Linked DNA regions of Homo sapiens: regions 1, 2, 3 and 4 are each linked to region 5. The links are contacts of gene promoters, found by promoter capture Hi-C in blood cells and fetal thymus (Javierre and others, 2016). All regions are on one chromosome and are shown on one strand. Each heading gives the region's core, a stretch centred on a gene start or on the middle of the fragment in contact. The rest is flanking DNA. Distances are from core to core; before and after follow the strand shown.

Region 1 (5,319 bases), core at 1,358-3,857, 220 kb after region 5:
TTAGTAGTTAAGTTTCTGGGAAGTCAAAAGTTATGTGTGGATTTTTTATCGTACTGGGGCCAGTGATCCTGACCCCTGTGTTATACAAGGGTCAACTGTATAACTTTCTAGACTATATAGATGTATTTGATGTATTTATAGGTAGAGAAATAGATATATATATAAAAACTAAAACAAGATAGTAATAGATATATATACATATATATAATTAGCATCATGCTGCATTTAGAGTTCTGTACTTGTTTTTAATCATAATTTTATGAAAAGCATTTTTTGATCAATTAACATTATTTGAAAATATTTAACCTCATGCATCATAATTTTAAAACTTTTCCCTTGTTGTTAGCTATTTGTGTTATTTGATAATGCTTTGAAAACCATATATTAGGTACAAGCATAGAAATAGAAATTATCACAATAACCACTGTAACAGTAACAGGCAGATTATAATGCAACTTGGGTATCATCCTTTGCTCTAAAAAGATGGCCATATTTTACATTGACATATGAGTAAGTTTCACTGAGTGGAGAGAATAATTTATTTAAAAATAAATGCTTTGACACTTAACAAGTCAGTTGTTTTCTTAAAAGCCTGCTATAGAATAACAGAACGATTGTAGAATAATTACTCGTTTCTTTTCTTACTCAGTGTTATTTCCTAATGAATTTTTCTAAGTGATTTGTCCTGTCTAATTTTATCAGTCTAATAAGAATCCATGCTTCAACTTTCTTACTGCTCTAGGCAGAAATTCCTGTGAACATGTCAAATCCATGGGTGAATGGACAAATTGGCATAGTGGGAGAGCACACACACAAAAGTGAGATGATGGCTGACCGATTTCCCTAATTACTGGAGTTTTAATAAGACAATAAAGCCCTTGCTGAGGATTTCCTAAGTTTTATTGGAAGTCAAGACTCTCCATTTGCAAAATAAGAGGAGCCCAAAGTGATTCACAAAAGGGCAGTGTTACATTCCGTTTACAGTTGAGGGTCACTGTTAGTGCCAAATGAAGCTATAATGCCCAGCATTGCTGAACATGCAAACAAAGCAAAGCTAAACAAACAAAAAAAAATTTTTAAAGAGGAAGTGATCTCAGATGGTAAGCATGGCAAAATAGTGAGGCCCAAATGATTGAATCTCACCCGTCCTTTAAAACTGTAGCCCCAAGTCTCCACTCCTCTGGGCATCTGAACCCATAAAAACAATTGAATCATGTCAATTCTCTTCTTACTCTGCACAGCCCATCTTTCCAACGGTGCATCAGATGCACAGCCCATCTTAAGCAAAGATCTTAAGACTATGTTCTTTTCTCACCTAAACTACTAGGGCTTTACTTAAATTAATCCTGCAGCATGCACTGTTCATCATGCCCATCCTCCACCCTTCTTATTAGTTACTTGAATGTCTACATGTTATCTCTAAACCCTAATTCCTATTATTTCTTTTTTGAAGGTTGCTCTTAGAGAGTTTCACAACCGTGAATAGGTTTCAACTTTTTCTGACATTCTCTATTTTTTTTTTCCAGATCAATGAAACAAGAACAAAGAGGAGAATCAGGAAGTCAGCAGTATGTCTCCTTTATTCCCCCATGCTTTAGAGTAAGTCTTTCTTTGGTAACCCAGGGTATTTACTAGCTTCTTATTAGGTTCAAAAGCCATACAGCAAGGGATTGCAGTCTGCCCTGCACACAAAGTGTAGACAAATGTACCAGCTTAAGAAAAGTCCATAGCTCCAGCCTTGTGTGACTAGAATTTATGATCCTTAGTTTCTGTTGCTTTTATCTACATTTGACAATCAGACCCTAGAAGGAAGGGTCATTTGACATGAAGATGTAGTAAGTGGTTTATATAGTCATTATGCCCAAGGAAAGGAAGCATTATCTTTATCTTCCTAATAAAAAAAAATACACAAAGATTGATTATTCATTTTATTGGATAAATTATTTTTTTAACTTTTACAAGGACATGGTAATTTCCTGTACTTTATAAAAGGTTTAAAGCTTGCCAATACAGATAATATGGTATTTACTGTATCTAATTTTAAAAAGGTATGAAATGCATATTTTACTTTCTAGAACTAACTACCAAAGTATATTGATGTCCATATGCTGACTTGTAGGGTAGGCTCACTCAATGAGTGTTCTTTCTTTCAGAAAAAAAAATCTTTGGAAGTGTCATTGGTGGTCATGTTTGTTCAGATAGCACTAATTAGTCCCCAGAGCTGTAGAAAATTAAGACAGGTGTAAATACCTGACCTCGGTTTGATCACTTAGATTCTTTTCCATAGGAGTTTGGAATTGAAATTAAGGGAAAATAATTTCCTTAGCTTATACTGCAACTGAATCTTTAAACTTGGATGATATGGGACAACCATGTTTTCAGAGAAAATCATGCTACAGGGAGAGAGAGAGTTTGAAGCACATATATAGATGAAAACAGAGACGCAAAGCCCTGTGGTCAGAGTTAGAGGGGCTGAGAGAATAGCTACCTTAACTTCTGTTTTCTTGCTCTTGATTCCAAGGACTTAGTGTTATGAATAACCTCTAAATTTTCATATTTACTTTTCACTTCTATGCTTACTTAGAAGGGATTATGTAATTGTTTATTTATAACCAAAGGGACACCAAGGTTTACAGCTGCAGAAGTGATAGTATTTTTCATTTTGTATTTTGTATTTTTCAATTCAAGGATTTCCGTTTGGTTCTTTTATATGGTTTCCTTTTCTCTGCTGAGATTACCTTTTTGTTCCCTTATTATATTCGTGTTGCCTTTAATTCTTTGAACATATTTACAATAGCTATTCTCTAGTCCTTGTGTGCTAAATCCATCATTTCCATAATGCTGAATCTCTGTTTTTTTACTACTTTTTCTCCTGGCTATGGACCACTTTTTTTTTTCTTTTTCTTCCTCCTCTTCTTTACATATCTAGTAATTTCTATTGTGTGCTGGACATTATGAGTACTGCCTTTTTGCATGTCTGAATTTTGTTGTCTTCCTTAAAACTTTTGTTTTGTTCTGGTAGGCAGTTCATTCATGTGTAGCTCTGCTCAATCCTTTCAAGGCTTGTTTTCAAACATTGTTAGCATGGTCTAGAGTTGCCTTTACTCTAGGGATACGTTAGCCCTATTCCTAAGTGATGGCTGCCTGAAACTTCTACTGAAATCCCAAGTGTCTCCTGATATTCCTCCATCCAGTTAGTTGAAATTAAAGCTTGCAATAGCTTCCAGCCCTTTGCAAGCTATTGAAGTTGCTGTGTTCTTAGCTCTCTGGTAGGTTTTCTATTTATTTATTTATTTATTTATTGCCTATTCCTGTGGAGTCTTGCCCTGAGAATGTGTAATTTAGATTTCAGGAATTCCTTCTTTTTGCAGTGTTCTCCTCTCTGGTAACTTTCTTCATACATCCCAGCTGTTTCACTAGCCCAAACTCTGATCTCTGCACTTCAACTCAGCAAACACTCTGCGCTTTATTTGAGTTCTGCATGCTTGCACAGTAGATTAGAAAGGATCTCCAAACAGAAAGTCAGGGACACCATACAGCTTGCCTCGTATACTGCCCACCACTGGGAATCACTCTCTTACACCTTTAATCACAAGGCTGAAAGCAATAATTTTATATATTTTGTCCTATTTTATAGTCATTTAAGCTGGGTGGCTAGTTTAGGACCAGCTGGCCTATTGCAGAGAGCATCTAAATATACATATTATAAACTTGCTTCTTAAAATTAATTTTATCTACAATGAGTTTATGTGCTTACTACATAATTTGTTTACTATCTTGCTTATTAGTTAAGTTTCTTCATGAATTTTAGAATTCTGTTTATGGGCTTAGTTTGGATCAGAGAATTTCTATAACTTTGATCTTATATGTGTTTCATCTATGCTTCTTCCACCCAACCCAAGGGATGTCTCTCTAGTAGCAGGTCTTGTAGTGGTATTTTGGGTCACCTATCCTACAGCCATTTGTGAGATCTGGACACAGAGCATGTGGGCATCTTTGTTTATTCATGATCACAGGGTCTCTGTGGGTCCTCTAAGTCTATGGCTTACTAAAATCTGTAGCCATAGAAGCTATGAGAAACCGTGATCATTTTCAAAGGCTTCTTTCATACAAGTAGAGCCCTCCTATTTGCAGAATTCTAGCATATAAAGTCCTCATCCCTGTTCACTTTACCCTGTGGGAACAGAGTTCAAAACTACTCCTACAGGTTTGTGTATCCAAAGCCCAATAGGTCAGCCCTCCTATCATTGGTCAATAATAAGATTTATCTGTTTAGTTTTGGGTTAACTCTTTTTAAATTTATCTATCATTGCTATGTGTTTAGAGCAATGCATGAAATTACTGAGCTGTCTTGACCAGAATACATCTCTAACTACAAATCAGATTTCTTTCCCTGAAGTTTCCACAATTTGAATATAAGACAGACCAAATAGTTCTGATTTTATGGAGTAAAAGCATTATATAAGTATGTCAGAAAAAATAATAAAGTGTCAGATGGCATACCCTCATCAGAAAGTAATACCCCGTATTATAGAAGGAACAGAATCATCATATGAATTATAACTAAAATGTTTTTAAAACTCCAACTTGTCTCCTTTTATTGTGTACAGATAATGAACTAATATCAGTTTTAAAATAAAGTGTTAGAACTACTGTTATATTACATATGCTTCAGACATGATTAGCCACAAATTTTTAAATCCCTCCTTGTTTATATATTCCTATGGTATAAAATACTAGAATTTAAGTAGGTACTCTGTAATGTTCCTTCCATCTCTCTTTTATTCTCTATGTAAACTTATTGTCTCAATAGAAAATTGACACAATATTATAGCCTCTTAGTTTATTACTATTAGACAAACTATTCGAGAAAGATTCACTGAACAAGTTAAGACACTCAAATCACAAAGCTTATTGAATCAACTTAAAGCACTTAGGACATCATGCAAGTGGAATATAATGGCCACACTACCTGAGTCCTTGGTCAGGCAATGTTTATGTATCCTGTCTTCTCTCTTTTTCTCTCTCTCTCTTCCTGATCTCTTGCCTCCCTGCAACCTCAGCACACAGCCAGTGTGATTATAAAGGCCATAATTGAGATTGAACAAGTTGGCTTAGCAGATAAGAGGTGCCTGGAGTAAACACTCTTTTTCTATTCAAAAGACACAAGAGCAAGTATACTTGCCATAGCTCAAACTCACCAATAACTAGCTGAGCAGCCATAACTTTGATCCATTTGTTTTGGGAAAGTATATATGGGGCCAGAATGGATGCCACCAACAGGTGCACAAAGTGATAAAACCTGAAAATCATAAATAT
Region 2 (5,290 bases), core at 388-2,887, 240 kb after region 5:
CATAGTGTAGGGTGGATATAAGCTTGCCCTAGGGTTGCCTGGATAAGTGTTAGGGTTTCTCAGATGGTGGGCAGTGCCATGGAACTCTCAACAGATTATGTCCTTTGTCTTTGGCTGCCAGGGTGGGTAGAAAAAAACATAAGGTGGGGGCAGGGTTAGGCATGTCTGAGCTCAGACTCTCCTTGTGCAGGGCTTGCTGCAGCTGCTGTGGGGGATGAGGGTGTGGCTCTCAGGCCAATGGAGTTATGTTCCCAGGGGGATTATGGCTGCCTTTGTTATGTTGTACATGGCTCCAGGGAAGTTGGGGAAAGCCAGCAGTGACAGGCCTCACCCAGCTTCCACACAGCCAGAAAGGCCAGTCTCAATCCCGCCATGCCTCCACAACAGCACCAAGTTTATTTCCAGGCAGCCAGTGAACAGGGCTGAGAACATGCCCCAGGCTATGAGCCTCCCCACTGAGAAAGCAAGCAGGGCTTTCAGGTTTCATACCTCCCCATCTGCCACAGCTTCTGTGCTTGTATCTGCACTCTCTGTTCGCTGCCTCTCCTGGATTGTGTCAAGGAAAGTTCATGTTTGGTAAAAACTGTTACAAAGTTCAGCTGGAAGTTTCCATCTACCAGTGGTATTTCCAACAAATTGACCCATTTTAAGATAGAACAAGATAATATTGAAAATGAAGCCTGAAACACCAGACCATCCACATTAAATTTGGGAGGAAAAAATTAGTCTTATTTGTCCCCTAATTGAAGAAGACCAACAATTAACAGCACAAACAATACCCAACACTATAGGCATCTCAATTGTTCAGCTTACCCAATTCTGACCAAAAAATTAAATTTGAGCAAACTTTCCAATCAGCAGTTGCCAAAACCATTGCACCCAGAATCAGCTGCCAACAATAGCTGCCATTTCAATGGAAATTTTAAATAAGTGGGATCAACATACTAAAGCATTTCCTCAAATAATTGTAACAGGAGATGACTAATTGCCACATGACTTTACCAGTATGATCCTGAAGACAAAGCACAATCAAAGCAATGGCTACCAAGAGGTGAAAATGGTCCTGTCCAGCCAAAAACAGATCAATCAGGAGCAAAGATAATGGCAACAGCTTTTCAGATACTCAAGGTATTTTGCTTATTGACTTTCCAGAGAGCCAAAAGACAATAACATTTGCTTATTATGAAAGTGTTTTGAGAAAGTTAGTCAAAGCTTTAGCAAAAAAATACCCAGGAAACTTCACCAGGAGTCTTTCTCCACCATGACACTGTTCCTGCTCATTCCCTCATCACACCAAGACAATGTGATGAGAGTTCTGATGACAAATCTTTAAGCATCCACCTTACAATCCTAATTTGGCTTGGCTCCTTCTACCTTTGTTTTCTTAAAACATCTGTAAAAGGTGCCCATTTTTTTTAGTTAATAATATGTGTGTGTGTATATATACACACATATATAAAATATACGTACATGTATATATATGATATACGTGTGTGTGTGTGTATATATATATATATATAAAAAATTTGGTTTATTTAGAAAGCCTTGTCTTTGAGCTCTGAAGTTCTTTCTTCTATCTGTTTATTCTTTTGCTAAGACTTCCCAGTGTATTTTGCATTTCTCTAAGTGTGTCCTTCATTTCCAGAAGTTGTGATTATTTTTCATTTATGCTATCTATTTCTATGAGAGTTCTGACAAGAAATCATTAAGCATCCACCTTACAATCCTGATTTGGTTCTTTCTACCTTTGTTTTCTTTCTTAATTTTAAAATATCTGTAAAAGGTGCCCATTTTTTTCAGTTAATAATAATAATATATTGGGTTATTTAGAAAGCCTGGTCTTTGAGTTCTGAATCTAAATATTGGGTTATTTAGAAAACCTTGTCTTTGAGCTCTGAAATCAGAGCTGTAGACTTTTATATATACATACAAACAAAGGTAGAAGTCATTCATATATGTATATGTATATATATATATATATGACTACATTGACATGGTTAAATTCCCAGGACTCAGTTATTTAGGGATGGAGAAAATGGCTCTTTAACTTGATGAAGCTTATGTTGAGAAACAAAGTTCATATTTTAATTTAATTTAATTTTATTTTATTTTTTAATTCAATTTTCCTTGAATATTTTGAAGCCTCCTCATATAAAATTCAATTTCCTATCATCTCAAGGTTATAGACAAAGGAATTCAAGGTAAAATAATCAAAAGTGTTATGAAAAACTTTCTTAGGTGGGCAGATAAAGGAAAACCTTACTGAGCAGAATATTACAATTTTACAGGAGTTGGCAGATCATATGCTATTTTATAGTTGTTCTTCCTACTTGTCAATATATTCTAATCAGTTTCTTTGGATTTGACCAATAAGTTTAGCCACTTTTTTTCTTTTAAGAGAGAAGAACTAAGAAGGAGTTATAAAGAGATATAACACTGACATAGGCAGAATTATTGCTTCTTCCTGATACATTTATTTTAATTCAAATTCTTTCAACTGTTATTGAAGTTAAATATGTTTCCATATATTTATTGGCCATTATTATTTATGTGTGTGTGTGTTTATATGTGTGTGTGTGAGTGTGTGTGAATTGTCTATCATGAAGTCTTTTTTGATCCCCCACCAAAAGTGATTTAATTTACTTGGAAGTTAAATAGAATTTTTTTTTGTACCTCTTTTGACACTTACTACACTTGACTTACTATTTAAAATATTTTCGTGTTTGTCTTATCTTCAGTGTGTGAATTCTTTGTGGTGTGAAATTATTTCTTTAATCTGCATTCCCTTTTTACCTAAGATAACATAATGTAGCATAAAGTGGAAGCTCATTAAGTATTTCTTGAATTATGCTGAATCATGAGTGGGTAGGGACCTGGTCTCAGATAGCCTCATCTAGTCTTTTCTAAGTCTTTAGGTATTTTTTATTTACTCTGTTTTATGAGTTTAGCAATAGTCCTTGTCCTAAGACAGTATATCGATTAAAGAAAAAATTGTCATATCATTTTTAATTTTTTGATGTTAAGCACAAGTTTATTTCAATATAATACATTATTTTCATTTCTGTCTCTTCATAAATATCTGTGCCCTTGCTATCATCATTTCTCTCTCTCTCTAGATTTGTATTTGTCCTTTATCTACATGTTGATGCTGTCTCTTGTGGCAATGACGGTTGTGTTCACCAACCTGCTTCAAGGGAGGGTCACTGCCAAGCCTTGTCTTCAGCAATTCCAACTTCCTCCAACTGCATACAAAGCCCAAAGGAACCATTAACGAACACAACTAGTTAAATAAAATTATTATATTAGTTTTAATAACATAACAGATAACAGTATTAACCTCAAGCACACAAACTTAAAGTGGAATCAGGTTGCTGACCCTGCCATTATTCTAAGTATATATGAATAAATGTTGTAATCAAGGGAACATGTGACTAAATAAAGCTAAAAATACTATGCTATTAGAAATGGTGAGGTTAGAATCTGTTTGTTTCTCCATGGCTTAACATCATGATGTCTAGAGAATTCAGTTTTGTCATTGCTACTTATAATCCTTTAATACACTGATAATAAAACAGAATGAAATACTGTGCTCGAATGGATATAAACTAGTCCCGTACATCCATGGGTCTGCAACAGCTGAACTTCAGCAGGTAGCAAGCAGACGATATTAACCGGGTTGTGTGAAGTCCTACAAACCCACACAGAGCTGGTTGCCATGGTGGTGGCTAGAACAAAACTAGCAGCCAAAAGCTCCATAGACAGAGAAGGTCAAAGGATGCCAAGTGGTGCAAAAAAAGGCAGCTGAAACAGATCCTTTTCAAGTGGTGAATTGTCTCTGATGATTAGGATCTGGAGTCTGCTATCAGAGATCAGGCAAGCAAATCTCTTGCCAAGAGAATGTAATTTGAACAAGGCCTGTTTCTATTTTTATTACACAAGAGAGCCTGTCATTAAGAAATAATTAGCATTTCTTGCCAGGTGGGCAAATCCATCTCTTTTGATGCAACATAGGTGCTTTAATATTCTAAATGTAGAATATCAGACATGCAGAACCCATCTCTTAAGCCTAGAAGAAACCCAGGGCAGAAATACTTGACTTTCAGAGCAGAAACCTGAAACCCAGAATGTTTATGCATAACTTGTCAGAAATCACAGCTACTAAATAGAAGGATCAGGGCAGTAGCTGCCATAGGTCTTCTAATTGCCTGCCCAGGGCTTTTAGGAGTGTACCTTACCTTGTAAATATACCTTCCTAGAGCCTCTCTGGTAATGGCTATGGGACAAGTTGCCTGGCCCCTGGCTCCCATCATGCCACACCCACACTCACACCTCTACCTCCAAACAATACCCTGACAAGCAAAGCCCCAACCTTTAAAAGACAAAGATTTTGCCATTTGCAAGAAACATAGCTAGCATCTAAGAGTCATCGTGACTCCCCAGTATGTGTAAAAAGTTCTGGCTGCAGCCAGGGAACAACATGATCTGCTACCCTCTAGAAATACCAAGGACTGTGTGTCATGTTCGAGTTTTTGGTGAGTACAAGAGGGCTGTCCTGACAAGCCTCAGTAGCACGAGTGAGCTGCATGTCCCTCAAGTGATCTTTCCCCCAAGAGAGAATGTCAAGAGAAAGTTCATCTGTGGCCAGAAATCACCCAACCCAGATTTTTAGGTGCTCTTTTTGAAAGTCCAAAATATTGTCCTCAAGCTAGACCTAGATTCTAATAACCATACCCCTAAAACAGGGCTCTGAGCAGGCAATTGGCTTTTTCCTTGCTGCTTCAATTTAGGAAACTGACTGAGAGGCTTCCTTTCTCAGAGATTTGAAAATTGTCACTACCCTTTGATGCCTGAGATATATTAGAGGCAGCTGATACACATCCCCTTCAAGTGGTGGATGTTCCCTGATGATAGGAATCTGGATGCTGCTATCAGAGATCTTGAACTGTCTGTCTAAAATACTGTGTCTAATCAGTAGTCCTGAAATTATTCATTCATCAAGTACTAAAAGAAGGCACACTTGGCATAACTTTCTGCTGATGCTAAGCACTGTGCAGACACCAGAATCCAGGCAGGACAGAGAGCTTACCATCTCCTTCTAGTCATAGATATAAGGATAGTTAGCAAAGCACTTTGAAGGTTTTATACAAATTTGTTTTAGGTAGAGGCCTGAGGAAGTCAACATTTAGGAATAATTAATATATTGTATTCTGATCTAAGAGAAATATTCTGACAATCTAAGAAACACAATATAATGATCCATCCTTATGTACATTCTTGCCAAACACAAAAA
Region 3 (4,861 bases), core at 1,551-4,050, 250 kb before region 5:
ATGTGTAGCTCTGGGACAATTTAATATTCTCAAGCAGAGTTAGAAAGAAATACCAAGTTTGGCCCTGCCTGCCAGCCGCTGCCTCACCAAAGCTTTCCAACCCATGCAATTTCCCTCTTTTCCTTAATGTCTTTCTTTACTGTCTTCTCTTGAATAATAGCCTAGTATCTAACCTCAGCACTTTGGATCATAATGTTCTGTTCTTTTGGAATGTCTCTCTTCTACTTAGGAACCTATTCAATTCCTTTTTATAATTTAAAACTTGCTCAAAACCCCATGAACACCCAAGGCAGAAAAGATTGTTCTTTTCTCTCTAATCTTATCTCATTTATTACCCATATACCAGGCAGGAACAGCAATCCCACACTACCTGTTGTTTCTTCCTCTTTTGTTGCATATAATCAGTTACAATAAATAGCACATAAAAAGCTAGAATCGTCAGTCCTATTTCTAAATAACAAAACTCAAATTTAAGTAGTAGAACTGGATTTCACTGCAGATTGTCTGACTCTACAACACTTGTGCCCAGTCATCAAGCTCTAGGCAAGATTTACAGTGTTATTTTCATTAGGAGTTAAAAAATGGGCCTGGTGCAGTGGCTCACGCCTGCAATCCTAGCGTTTTGGGAGGCCGAGGCCAGCAGATCACCTGAGGTCAGGAGTTCAAGACCAGCCTGGCCAATATGGTGAAACCCCATCTCTACTAAAAATACAAAAATTAGCCAGACGTGGTGGTGCATGCCTATAATTCCAGCTACTTGGGAGGCTGAGGCAGGAGAATTGCTTGAACCCAGGAGGCAGAGGTGGCAGTGAGCTGAGATTGTGCCACTGCACTCCAGCGTGAGAGACAGAGCAAGACTTCGTCTCAAAAAGAAAAAAAAAGAGTTACTATGCAGCCATAAAAAAGGATGAGTTCATTTCTTTTGTAGGGACATGAATGAAGCTGGAAACCATCATTCTGAGCAAACTATCACAAGGACAGAAAACCAAACACCGCATGTTCTCACTCATAGGTGGGAATGGAACAATGAGAACACTTGGACACAGGGTGGGGAACATCACACACCGGGGCCTGTTGTGGGGTATGGGGAGGGGGGAGGGATAGCATTAGGAGATATACCTAATGTAAATGACGAGTTGATGGGTGCAGCACACCAACATGGCACATGTATACATATGTAACTAACCTGCACATTGTGCACATCTACCCTAGAACTTGAGGTACAATAAAAAAAAAGAGAGTTACAAAAGATAATTAAGGTTATATTTATAAAGTAATTCAGGAGCTAGGATTAACACTGTATTAATATTGTAATACACTTTCTATTGTTTTAGCTACTTAGTATATTTTTGTCCAATTAAAACAGTTCTGTATTTACTTTCAACATCTTACCAAATGAGATAGAATTTAATGATAATGAAGTGTTTCACTCATGAAATTAATACTTACTGTAGTCATTATGGTTTTGCTTTGGTCAAGAAACATTTTATTTTACCGATGAAGCATGATTCCTAATCACCCCGCTCAGTGGAATTATATATTCGCAATTGTTTACAGACAGAAAAACTAGAAAGAGTAACTGAGTGGCACGTTCAGTATGAGTAGAAAAGGTGAGTCCTAAGTTTCAAACTGTCATTGATATTAAAGGGGGATCTGAAAAAAAGAACAGACCACACACATTTACCCAGAGTCTGCATCGCTTTCATCCTGCATGAAAATCCACAAGAATTAAGTCATTGTCCCTTAATCTAGAACAAAAATAGATAAACATGATGTTGAGTTCCCTTACTTCTTAAAGTTTAAAGAACTCACTCTCTTATGTAAAAAAAAGATGTTGAAATCTATTCAAATTTAATTTATAACTAATTTAAAGTAACACTATTATTAATGTAATAATAGTGGTCACTATACTGGATTCGACTCTTCTTGTTCATATATGAGATCTTAACTTCAGATTCAATAACAGAAAAGTTAGAATAAAATTTCCTTAGACTCCCCCAAGATTAAAATAATACATTTGTCTTATACTTACAAAACCATATTTTTCTTTATCAGCATTTTGCTCTGCTGTTTCTCTTTGCATGCAGAATGGGCCAAGAAGCTTACATTTTGGAAAATTGCCCACTGTCAGAAAACTGTTCTTACCACAATATTAATAATAGGCACAATTTTGTACACGAGGCACATGTCTTCTTTTTCCTTTCATATCCACTATGGATTTAAGTGGGTGATTTTTTTAAAAAAAGGACATTGAATTAAGGCAGAGTCCAGGAAATTGATTGTGTAAACAAAGTCTTGAGGATAGGTTCTGAAATTTGGCAGATTGTTCATAAGAGTTCAGATGAGTAGGTATATAACTACACATACCCAAGCATCAGAGAGGAAAGTGAGAAGCTGATGTTTAGAGAATTAAAGTCCCTTTAGACTTTCATGTTGGAAGTAAACACTCAAATAAAATACTTTTATTTGAAATATTTTGCAATGATTGAAATATTGTATGCTATAGTACCTTAACATTTAAGAAGAACAATAAAGCAAGGAGTTAAAATAGAAGGAAAAGAACTTTCGATGGAGAGTTGTGGGACCTTGGGCGGCTCACTTAGTAACATAGATTACCTCATCACTTCTCTTAAATGAAATGGTTGGACTGCATTATCTGTGATGTCTCTCCTACACATCTAAACTGATATAAGTTCAAAAATAAATACACTTCTGAAAAATTATTTCTGATATAAGTAGTTTGGCATACAAAATATTTATCTTATAATTCTAAGAGGTAACAGATAGAAACTGTAGGGAAATAAAATTGTAGATAAGGAGTAATTACTTAAATATGAAGATCCTAGTTGATAGTAACAACCAAAATAAAAGCTGGCTTCTTGAAATATTTGGTAATAAATCTTATCACTAGTTTTGAAATAATTATCTCATAATAAGAAAATTTTTACTGCATAATAATGCAGTAACTAAAATAAAATATCATTTATTCAATAACTATCTGTTAAACCAATATTATAAACAACTACTTTGCCACAAGGTAGGTGATAGTCTATTATTGTAGGTGCTAGAAATATAGTAGTGAAAAGATAAAAACGCCTGCAGTCATGAGTCTCACATTCTAACTACACACTCACCCACGCATACACACTCAAACATACAGTTGGGGCACAATACAACTAAGTTTCAGGAAGATGCTGCATTTAAAGAATACATTCCAAAACAACAAATATTAACTAATGCTGATATTTACTTTCAGGTCTCCCATAATATTGTATTAAAGTTCCCTTTCTCTGTTTTCTAGTTTCTTCAACACTGTTCTTATTTCTCATTCTATGAAACCTTCACTCTTGGTCCTGTATTCCAAATCATTCCATTTTCTAGCTCTGGTGAGTTTTAATTTTCTTCCTCTCTTAGGCTCTTCCAGCTGTTCTCTTGGGACAATGAATGTATTATTTTGTAAAAGTGTTGCAGTATCACACCTTCTTCATTCTCAAGCTTCTTGTTTTGATTCAACTATTGCTTGACTGGACTTTTTCCAAGAATGTTTACTAGCAGGTGCATTCAAGCTTCTTGTTTTGATTCAACTATTGCTTGACTGGACTTTTTCCAAGAATGTTTACTAGCAGGTGCATTTTCTGAGTTGTTTCATGTTTCAGAATGTGCCTATACTATATGCTATGGATTGCTACAGGTGCTGTGTGTATAACAGTGAATAAGTGGTTCCTGCTGTCTTGGATATTATCTAGATGATACTTACAGACACATTTCCATTCTCTTTTGGCATTGATGGTTATTGTGAAGATGTCTGAGACCAAATAGATTTTTCCTTTTTCATGCTTCTTGCTTTAATGAGAATGAATGCATGAATGATTATATTTTCATTCTTGTAAAATTCCATAGCTTTACTGAGGTAAGATTTAGTGTGTGCCCTTTCAGTTTACAGATTCAGTGATTTCTTCATTTCAGGGACATTTTTCGGTGATGTATCATTTAATACATCTCCCTTTTATGTAGGTTATGTATTTCCGAGACACTCATTCTTTTATGTCATATTACTGCACCTGTCTTTCCCTATTATGATCCCTTTTTACTTTAATCTTTTTTATATTTTCCCTCTGTATCATGATCATCTCAATCTTTTCCTCTACTTTAGCAATTTAATGTTCAACTGGGCCTGTTCTCCTTTTTGAGATTTCATTTGTTCTGCAGGTTGCTCTTTTGACTGTATGGCATTTTGCCAGATCATTTCTTGCTATGTTGCTCATGCTTAACTTTGAAGCTCTGTTCAGAATCTCTAATTGTTTTTATAGAGTGTGGCAGAATTTTCCCTTTTATGAGACTCCATTTCCAAATTATCTGAAAGCTGTTTGTATTCTCTGGCTATAACAGTTTGAGGGCTTAGCTTAGGTTATATTCTTTTGGGGAAAAAGGGAGAGCTGAACTGGGTCCCTTTGATTATTGGTGGGATGGGGCTCTGTCCTGTGTTCTGCAACAAAACAGCTGTCTCCTAAGGTTCATTTTCCGTAGTGAATGGTATATTCTATGTTTGGGATGGAAATAACCTTGTAATTTCTGGAGCTCCTCTCTTTTGCCTCTCTGAAGCTAACATTTCTTTATAAAATGGCACCTTTACTTTTACATAAAAAGGCAGCCCTGGTTTTACATATACCCCCTTCACCTATCTCTACAAAACTAATGTTTCCATCAACAAACAGAAGAGCAATCAAATAAGTGTTAACCTCAAGCTTGCCTCTTTCCAAAGTTGGAAACATTATTAAACATTCTTATGTCAAGTCATCACAACTGCTTGGTGCAGAAGAGGTAATGAGGTGAGGAAATATTCAAGTTTCCTGTAACTGTT
Region 4 (5,034 bases), core at 2,440-4,939, 230 kb before region 5:
GTATCAAAAATTTTCCATAAGGCAAGTCTTATTCTTATTAGTAAACAATAGTTTCCAAATATTTGATAACTGTTTTAAGTAAGTTATAATGTCACATAGGGTTGCAGTCCTTCTAAATCTACATAAAGATATAATTTAATGTTTCTTTTAAAAATAAATTTTAACCTTGCAAAAATAAAATTAGTCATTTGATGCTTTTAGAGATTTTTCTACATGGCAGAACAAAATTTGATATTTGAAGCTTACCACCAAAAATACAGCAGTATTACAAACCAAATAAAAGAGACCAAGCTATTTTAAAACAAAGTTAAACAGAATTTGAATCTCATACTGTGACATATTAAAATGAGCGACAGGTAGCAAAAATCCAGCCAGTATAGGAATGGGATATTTGAGGGTTTTGGAAACACAATTACTTCTCATCCATTTCTTTTAAAAAGTTATTTTGTCCATTTAAGTTAAGTCACGATCTCCTTAATAAAATACAGTTATTTTCAAAATTGACTTTTAAAAATAATTTAATAAAATCAAGTGAGAACAGTGTTTTTTTTTTTTTCTATGTATAGTCAGTTAGGACTTTGGCAAATATAAAGCACAACCAATATACTGATGTAGGGTGGAAAATAATTTAAAAAATTAATTTAATAAAATGCCTGGAGCAGTAAGTAACAATTATTAACAATACAACAATGAAGCTGTCTGTACTTTCATTTAACAACACACTTAAGGCAAATGTTGAATTAATATAAAAATAATATGTGGTAAACTGATACTTGACATGATACAATAAAAATTAATTTTCACGTTGAAGACCTAGTTATGACAACATCTCTATATGCCTTCTAAATACCTAATTTCTCAGTTGTGCAGAGCATAGCTCACTATGGCCTAATAAGATGTCAATCAGAATATCCAGAATATTTCTTAATATAGAGCAATACATTTCCCCTACCACATCAGGCAAAATAATTTAATATATTTATTTTCACAAAAGGCTCATACTAACTCCAAACTATAGGGTTTTTTAAATTTCTAGTACTAATTCTGATTCTTAAAGATAGCTATCATTGGTATTCTAAATTTCATGCTGTTCTTAAAAAGAGCAAAATGCTTATCCTGTAAGTTTTACTCTAATTCACCCCTAAAATTTACTTTATGTGGGAAAGTTTCACCATAAAAAATCTACTATTTATATAGGTCGAGATTGATTCTACTACCTTTGTAGAACAAGCAGAGGCTCATTTGTATAAGATAAACTGGGTTTCAACATCTAACTTTACACTGTGACTCTGGGAAGGTTACATAAATTCTTTGAGCCTCACTTTCTGAACTACAAAACGAGAACATGATGACAGTCCTCAAAGTGTAGCATGGAATTTAAAAAGAGCTAGTGCACATTCCTAGCACACGGGTAGGAGTAGTATAGAACAGTATAGGTGTTAATGTTAATGACTTTTTCTCCTCTCTTTCCCATTTCTGGCATATTTTGGCTAACGGGAGATTAGTGAGAAAATATGGAAGAAGTTACTGGAATAAATCAGCTCTACTAAAAGGCTCATCTACATTGCAGGCAATAGTTATACATTTTCAAAGTAACATTCAATAAGATCAAAACATTGGTTATAAAAATGTATTTACATTTTACAATTCATATGCAAGAAATTTTTTCAGGGCAACAATTTAAGAAAAAAACAGATAAGCTACATCTGTGTGTATACTTTAATTGTGTAAAACTGAAAGAATACACCCAATTGTATTCAATGTTGTATGCTCATGGACAGGTAACAGACACAAAGCTACTTCATACAGTAATCTATATTGACATCAAAATAGAGTTTCTCTAAAGGAAAGAGCCTTTTTTTAATGGGATTGATCAAAATTAGAAGTTCCCATTATTTGTCCATGAAACCTAAGGAAGGTGCTATTTCAAATGGAATTCTAGTAGAACTTGGCACATACATTTTAACTTTTCAACCACCCATTATTTTTTACCTCTTGTAGTTTCACTCACTCAGACAATCACACATCTACATTCATTAATTTTAAAAACACACATGCCTTTAAAGCAGAAAATTCATCCTCAAATTACATTTTCTACAAAAAAAGCAGGACACCATATTTATATCCAATGCTTCAGTCATGGAAATGGATTTTCTTCATAGAGCTGTTAATTAACATACACTATTATGTTCAACATTTCAAAAGGTGTGTTTTAGGAGGATCTGTTTGATCATGTGCAGGAATTCTAAGGCATTATAAGTAGTTGTTCCACAGGACAAGTGCTGCCCTTGCAATGATATACTCTTGATATATTTGACAAGTCTTTAGTCTTCAAATGCTACCAGCCATAGGGAGACATTCGTAGTCTACGGGTGGGTTGGCTCAAAGGTCAAAAACTTGTTTGAAAAAAAGTTTATGGAATAGCACCATAAGAAGTCTTTCAGAAACAAATCTTTTTTTTCCAGCATTGTGTTTTGAAAAAATGAATCCCAGGAAGAGAAAAATGAAAGAGACCTTTCAGTTCTCACAAGGCCTACTTCTGCTTCATTTCAATTTTAAAAAATAGATTAACCATGACAACATCAACAATAATAATACAACAATAACAGATCGACAACAAAGGAAAGACAATAGCAGCAGCAGTAACTTGAGTAATGAACCATCCAGACAGTCATTCAGAAGAATCCTGCTCACACCTCTTCGGAGTTTTCTCATAAGGTTCATAAGACATCACAGGCTTCTTGGATTTGGTGTGAAAAGGCAGCACTTCCAAAAAAAAGAACTAAGTTTACCAATTCACTGGGCGTTTTCTGAGACTTAAAGAACTGATGTCTAGAATTTAACTGCAATAATTAGACACCATTGAGATTTCAAACTCATCTAAATGTAAGTACACTAAAGTGGTCTCAAGATCATTTGTGTTTCAGAGGTTAAGCTGGCCTGCAAGTGGAAATAATGAAGCTGAAATATCCCAGTTTCCAAACACCAGACACACACATACACATGGAAAGTACAAATCACCCTCAGAAGACTCCCATTTCACATTCACCTTATATGGATCTGGTTTACACTGTATCCAAGATACAAAGTCAGCAATTATCCTAAGACAACCAAAATACTGTTTTCCAGTTTACGACCTGCAAGATCATTTTATGTCCCTAAATCTTGACAAATTGTCAAAAAGAACACTGCAGGGTCACAGTTCCTGAATTAAACTGTCTGAATTGTGAGGCATCTATTTCAAGCTGTGAACAAAAGCTTGTAGAGTCTTCCTTGAAGTATATGATGCCCTTTCACCAGCTTTATTAATACCATCAAGCATGGAGTTCAAATATCCTTGTAATGCTGATGAGGGTTTTGCTGGAAACTTCTCTTTTAGTACAAAGATAATTCTGGTCTTACAGGGATTTTTTGTTCAAACTCTTTGTATAAAACATTTGTGCCAATATCTTCAGTTTTAAAAAAAATATGTCTTCTCTCCATTATGCACATTCCTTTGTGTTCTGACAGAGGTTTTGGTGTTATTTTTTGGTATGTGTGGTATCTGGATATCTTATGCTTTTGTATCTTATATGAAATCCCTTCTTGTTGATTGTGTCATCAGTGTGGAAATGAATTAAAACTGAATCTCCAATTGAATAAATCTCTTCTGGTGGCTGAAGGAAAACAAAAACAACAAGCAAGTAAACAAGCAATAAAACGAATCACTTTTTCTTCAGTGTAACGCATGTTTGGGAATACTTGTCTTTGGAATATAATTTAATCCTCCCAACAACCTTGGAGAGTAGGTGTAATCAACTTCTTCACTTTATAGAGGAGAAAATGGGATTCGGAGAAGAAAATGACATGCTAGAGCTCACGCGACTAGTCGGTGATGTAGCTGAGCTCTGAACATACGTTACATTTTCTAAGTTCTGGGCACTTTTCTCTCTAGAACTTGAGTGTTTTTCCCTAAACTTTTAAGCCAAGTTCTCTTGATTTACAAATCAGTAAAGTGAGGTTCAGAGAGTGTAAAGAGATACTAAATGTGTTTCAGAAGCTGCTCTGGAGCAGAGCCACTTCCAAAATCCAAATTGTCCATTATTTCTTGTTTTAATACTCTAAGCATCAAGAAGCTTTTTCATTATATTTCAGTTGTCATTTGGGCAGGAGTTCAACAGTATTACTGAAGCAATAGCTACTGGTAGACGTTTGAAAAACTGGGACTACTATCTTCAGGACAAAATATGTATTCAGAAGACTATAAATATATAAATATTAATGCAGTGAATCCTGGAGGAAAAGCACTGAGAAAACCTTATGTTTTTCTTTTCCTTATTTCTCATGGTGACGTCTTCTGACCTGTACCTGCACTCTGCACCTGCACAAGTGACACTCTGCAATGGAACAGTGTCTCTGTAGCACTGCCTGTGTACACACACCAGTGGCTGACCCTGCCACCGCCTCCAAATATATTTGTTAAAAAGAGAATGTGAATTAGAATGGTGTGCATATTATTTTTTTCCTTTATGCTTTAATTCAGAAACGTGACAGAATTGTCTATGGTGTGTGTGTAAATATGCTGCTGTTAGATTAAGTATTTAAATATTTATTGCATAATAAGAAGTTAGAACAATGGAAAAGTGACAAGAAATTATACCTACTGATTTCATCGGTTTCACCTGATATTATTCAGGCAAATTCATTAGAAGTGGAGAAGTGATAAGGGTAGAGACGTGTTATATTTTGTCAAGCCATTTATAATACAATGTAGCCTTTTTTTTTTTTTTTTGCAAAAAGCATTGCCAACTTGTGAATGGTACACATATCAATCATGAATCAATAGGCATCTTTAATCATGTCTAGGGTATTCTGTTGGTGGTATATTTACCCCGGATCCACAGAATCGACCAAGCCCCACAGCTGTTGAATCAAGACCATCAAAGAGCTCCACATAGTCATAGCCACAGTCTGCTTCTTCCTCCACTTCAAATGTCTGGAAGGATAATTCAAGTCGAGAGCCCCGTTCTGATACTAATAGCCATTCACAGTCAA
Region 5 (4,776 bases), core at 1,020-3,519:
ACTGAATTAAATCAGAATTCTGAGTTCCAGCCTAACAGGCTCCTGCTAAGCTACTCTGGCTTTTAAATAAGTACCTGCATTTAAGGATGCACCGAGAAAGATGTGATAATGTGAACACAACACACATACCCTTTTTGTCAGAACAATGGGTCATCAAAGGTAAAAATTAACTAGGGAATTTCCAGCATTTTTCTTCATTGTGTACACCTCTCCTTCCTCCAGGCCCAAGAGAGGGTGAATAATGCTTATCTAGTTATGGAAGGGAAGAAAAGCTAGTCACAGAGCAACCCCGCACGGAATCTGCAGAACCCTAGATATATTTGACTTTGTCCACTCCCTTCCTCTGCGCTTCGCTAAAGCCCACACCTCTTGGGATGGAACCTAACGTGCCTTCCGCTTACAAACCGCTCTGCTAGGTTAGCCCCAACCACCATGCAACCTTTACGAAGTTACTTGTGCGTCCACACTGAGCGCGGATCACCTCAGCCACAGCCCAATAGAGCAAGGAACCAGGAGCTCCCGAAGCCCGGACACGAGCCGCGGCCAGTGCTGGGCGCCCTCAGGCGCTGCGCTCACGTGGTAGCGGCCCCGGGCACGTGCGCCTCCGACCTTAGGCGGCGAGAGGGAAGCGCCGCCCCGCGCGCGCGAGAGGCTGGCAGCGGCGCCAGAGGCGTAGAAGGGAGGGGAAGGACCTGGGACATTCAGGGACCCTGCGAGGCAAGAAGCTGAGCTTCAGGCAGTGCCGGTCCGACTGCATTTCCCTGGGGTGTTAGCTGGAAGGAAGACACAAATTTGAATGGGGTAGCAACTTAAAAACATTTTTCTTTTCAGTTTATTTTAAATGGGCAAATGCATCAGAATCCCATCTAGAAGTGAGTTCTTCCGAGATTGTCACAATCCCTTTCTAGCCTGGAACCCACACTTGAAATTCCTGGTAAAAGAGGGAGCCAAGGTGTCTCCAGGTAGCAATGCCATCCTCCTGTATCTTTTGGGGAACCCTGCCAACTCGCTCTCGAACAAGCGCTGGGAAACCGCGCCCTGGGGGAGAGGGGAAAGAAGACGGTGTCCCTTCCATATGCATAAAGCCCGCTGAGTGTTGGAATTTAAAACCTACAGCAGCAAGCTATATTTACGACTTGTTTCGTTTTGCTGGGGGAGGGGAGAGGGATCAGAAACTCTAGGACCTTATTCCCAAACTGGGAGATGGGAGCTTGGCAGTGGATCCCACTGGCACAGAACTCTAGTCAACTGGGGCCGCAGCGGCTGCCACTTGCGGGTGGGGAAGGGAAGGAAAAGGAGGGGGAGAGAAGGAGGGGCGGCGGAGGGGCTGACGCGGGAGGGAAGGAAACAGGTGAGCTCCCACCGCCACCCATGGGAAACCCAGCGCAGCGGCCCCCGGCGCGCCACCGTCCCAACCTGGAGAGCCACTTACCGGCTTTACACGGGTCCTTGTAATCTATAGTCTCTGTTTTATCCTCTTCGTTCCCATCAAAAGTGTAATCATAATCGAGGCCAGCGCAGACCCATAGCTCCCCGTAGAAAACAATCCCCGAGGCCACCAGCCACACGAGCATCCTCGGGGAAAGCGTTCCCAACCCCATCCTCCTCCCCCGGAGGAAAAGGAGGGGACGGGACCCAGAGGTTAGGCAGCCGCGGTCCGCGCTGATGTGCGGGGCTAGGGGCACCGGTGCTCTTCTCCCCACCCGGAGGCTCCTCGGCGGGACCGGGGTGCTCAGGTGTCCGGAAACATGTGGATGCCGCCGGGACAGTAGAGAGGGCAAGCACTGCCTGTTACCCCCAGTCGCAGGGAGAAGTTGGCTAGGGGCCCACGGGTGGGCGGAGGGCAGGTAAGGAACTCTGCACTCGGAGGCGGGGAGGGCGCAGGCAAACTCGGCTCTGGCGGCGCTGGCGCTCGCAGCCTGCCAGGTCGTCCTTCTGGCTGCCGAACTTCCCGCGGCCGCGGCTCGGCGAGCGGCGCCCCGCGGGCTCAGCTGCCACCAGAGCTCGGACTCCCGCGCCGCGTCCCCGCTGCTGCCAGGACTCCGCGGCCGAGCGCGAGCCGCCGCCGCCTGAGCCCAAAGCCGCCGCCGCAGCTCCGAGAAGATGAATCCGGTCTGCACATCAGCACATCTGAATTGAAAGGGGAGACCGAGGAAGGGGGTGGGGGCCAGGCATTTCTACGCCGCGAGACCTTAAAAGCCTGCAGAAGCCAGCAAAGCAACTGACTGCAAGAGAGCAAAAGTGTGAGGATTTGGGGATGCACTGTTTGCCTTCCCCCCGCCAGCCTGTCTTTTTACCCTCTTCCTAACTTGAAAAAAAAAAATATTCGCACCATCTAACCCAATCACTTGCATCCTGCTTACTTATTCATACAATCAGGGTCAGGATCCGGACCACAGCCTCCTCTCTTGACTTCTTTTGATAGCCTTAGACAAACAAACAGACAGGAGCGCGCTGACAATTCCATTTATATTTTACCAAAGATAAAAATGAATATATTATGTATCTGTGTACGCAAACAGCAATTAATAGATGATGTACGTGTCAGTTGAGAGTGCCAGACCGGGGGTGGAGCGAAGGATCGTGATAACTTAGCTGCAAATCCATATTTCCCCTCCCCCCAAATAAACAGCGAGTGTGTATTTCTTTCCTTTGCTGCTGTTTAACCTTAGAGCAGCGCAGGAATGGAGGAAAAGTGTGCGAGTCTTCACGATTTTGGTAAGAAAATAAACAGACTACTGTTGGTCTCCTAACCAACAAAGTTTTGCTAAGAACTAAGATCCTCAGAACTGCAATTAAAAAAAAAATCCAAAATCGAGTTACAGATTGCAGCAGCAGGAAACGCTGAGACCTTGCCGATGGGCTGGCGCTATGGCTCACGTGGGCGCAGGAAGGGAAGCTGGATGGAATACTCGGGAAGCAAATTTTCTGTGACAGTTCTGGCGCCCATGAGCAGAGTTGCTCAGTATCCTTCGGCTTCAGTAATGTTTTACTTCTTCAGAGGAGAGGGTGTAAAACCTGGCAGGAGGGTCAGCGAGGTAAACCACATGTCAGCCGAGCAGACTCAAGACAAACACAGGTTGTGGGAAATTGGGGAGGAAAAAAATCAGAGGAAATCTCTGTAAAACCCCTGTTGTGAGCAATTCCGAGGTTTCCCCACATCTGCAAGTAGTTTCCAAAATAGGTGAGATGACTTCTCCCCCAACAAGCTTCCAAGGGACTGGTGATTGGGAGCTTTCCTTTTCCAACTAAATCTTTAAAACTGTCACTTTAGCAAGGACTTGTAAAAAAAAAAAAAGCCTTACATATTATTTGACTAGTGTTCCCCCTATCCAAGTTATCATCTAGAGGAATGTATGAAGGTAAACACACACACACACACACACACACACACACACACACACACACAACTTTGACAGATAAAGTCATCTTTGGTTTGGAGATTTTACTAGGTTTTATTCATGTTTGTTAGAGAAAAGTAAGAAGCCAATCTTGAAAAAGTACCAAGTATTTTCAACTTAAACTAAAAGTATAGGAAGGCTAGGTGGAACTGAACTGACCAAGTGTTCTTTGCAAAACTGGGTCTTTCTCAGAGGCCACTGCAATGATGGAGCTTCCCTTCCATAGATCTTAAGCTTTTAATGCCCAGGATACAGAGCAGAAGTAGATTTTTAAAAAGAACATGTTCAATAAGCAGGTAGAGGCGTTTGATTTTGAAATCTCTTGCTGAGTCATTCTCAAATTCTCTTACCCATCCAAAAAAAAAAAAGTTTGCATAATTAATAATAGTGTTGCCCTAGTGCAGAGCTCAACAAGAATATGTCCTGCTTAGCCCATCTGAAAGCCTAGAGAATGCATATGTCATCTAGAGGATTCCTGCTCTTGAGCTGCTGACAGTGTTCCCATTCCCTATCCCAAACCTTAAAAATGTCCCTTGTTAATCTAAATGCCTGCAAACATCTCCTTAGACTATTTTATCATGTGTAAATTTGCAAGAAGTTTTACCTGTGGTTTGCCTAAACATCACTTACTTTGCAGGAATAAATATGTTTTATTCATTTGTTCTGGGAAAAAAAGTACTGTATAGGGATAATAGCTTCATTATGTATAATGACACCTATTACTTTTAACATGTGTTTCATTATTTGGTTTTATAATTTTATGAATTTGTAGTCCAGAGAGTTAGAATGATTTTCATAGTAGAACTTCAAGTCAAAATACAGGAATGTTTCTTTACAGCTAATATACTTGCAGAGAATACCTACATCACAATACCCAGGCTTAATCCCTGATTTATTTTTAAATATTAAATCTAACTCTAGGTTGTAATAAGAAACTTCATTTTTTTAAACTAATTTTGTCTCTATAGTTGTTATGATTACAAACTAAAAATAGATTTTTCCTTGTCCATGAAAGAAACATAAATTTGCAAGAATATGTATGTGAGCAAGGAGTTGATTGCTGTGTCATAGTATAGCTGCAGACACGCAGTACGTGAATTCAATCTCCTCAGAAAGACAAAAAGGAGAAATTGATTCCCTTAGTAAGACATGTGCTGATGTTGCCCTGGCTTCTAGCTGACAAGCTCTCTTGATCACCATTGCCACCTACAACAGGACCCCATCACTCTCAGCAATAATAGGGAATGAAGCCAACCAAGAGTGCTGCAAAAGGCAAGCTCTATGCCAATTAGTATATCACGTTGGAAATACCAATTAAAATAAATTTCCCTTGTAGAAAATATCAATTAGACATGTACTCTTTCTAATCTAGATT

Evidence for each region. Contacts are between HindIII fragments. The CHiCAGO score rates a contact against its expected background, and 5 or more counts as called.
Region 1: a fragment that was not itself captured here is called in contact with the fragment with the promoter of TLL1 in region 5 in 1 of 17 cell types (endothelial precursors); the score reaches 5.4 in endothelial precursors.
Region 2: a contact is called between a fragment that was not itself captured here and the fragment with the promoter of TLL1 in region 5, in 1 of 17 cell types (endothelial precursors). The highest score is 5.6, in endothelial precursors.
Region 3: a contact is called between a fragment that was not itself captured here and the fragment with the promoter of TLL1 in region 5, in 1 of 17 cell types (endothelial precursors). The highest score is 5.2, in endothelial precursors.
Region 4: a contact is called between a fragment that was not itself captured here and the fragment with the promoter of TLL1 in region 5, in 1 of 17 cell types (endothelial precursors). The highest score is 6.2, in endothelial precursors.

The regions. Positions count from the first base shown.
Region 1 is chr4:165,652,891-165,658,209 of GRCh38, reverse strand. No RefSeq gene overlaps it. Among named protein-coding and RNA genes, the nearest start is that of LINC01179, 29 kb to the left of the region's middle. The HindIII fragment of the contact is 1,210 bases long and covers 2,003-3,212 here.
Region 2 is chr4:165,630,617-165,635,906 of GRCh38, reverse strand. No RefSeq gene overlaps it. Among named protein-coding and RNA genes, the nearest start is that of LINC01179, 51 kb to the left of the region's middle. The HindIII fragment of the contact is 845 bases long and covers 1,215-2,059 here.
Region 3 is chr4:166,123,120-166,127,980 of GRCh38, reverse strand. No RefSeq gene overlaps it. Among named protein-coding and RNA genes, the nearest start is that of TLL1, 250 kb to the right of the region's middle. The HindIII fragment of the contact is 1,394 bases long and covers 2,104-3,497 here.
Region 4 is chr4:166,099,364-166,104,397 of GRCh38, reverse strand. TLL1 (tolloid like 1) reads right to left here. Exons shown (of 21, transcript NM_012464.5): 20 at 4,871-5,034; 21 at 1-3,656. The coding sequence ends at 3,522. Among named protein-coding and RNA genes, the nearest start is that of TLL1, 230 kb to the right of the region's middle. The HindIII fragment of the contact is 857 bases long and covers 3,261-4,117 here.
Region 5 is chr4:165,870,730-165,875,505 of GRCh38, reverse strand. TLL1 (tolloid like 1) reads right to left here and starts at 2,269. Exons shown (of 21, transcript NM_012464.5): 1 at 1,433-2,269. The coding sequence starts at 1,601. The HindIII fragment of the contact is 7,346 bases long and covers 1-3,211 here.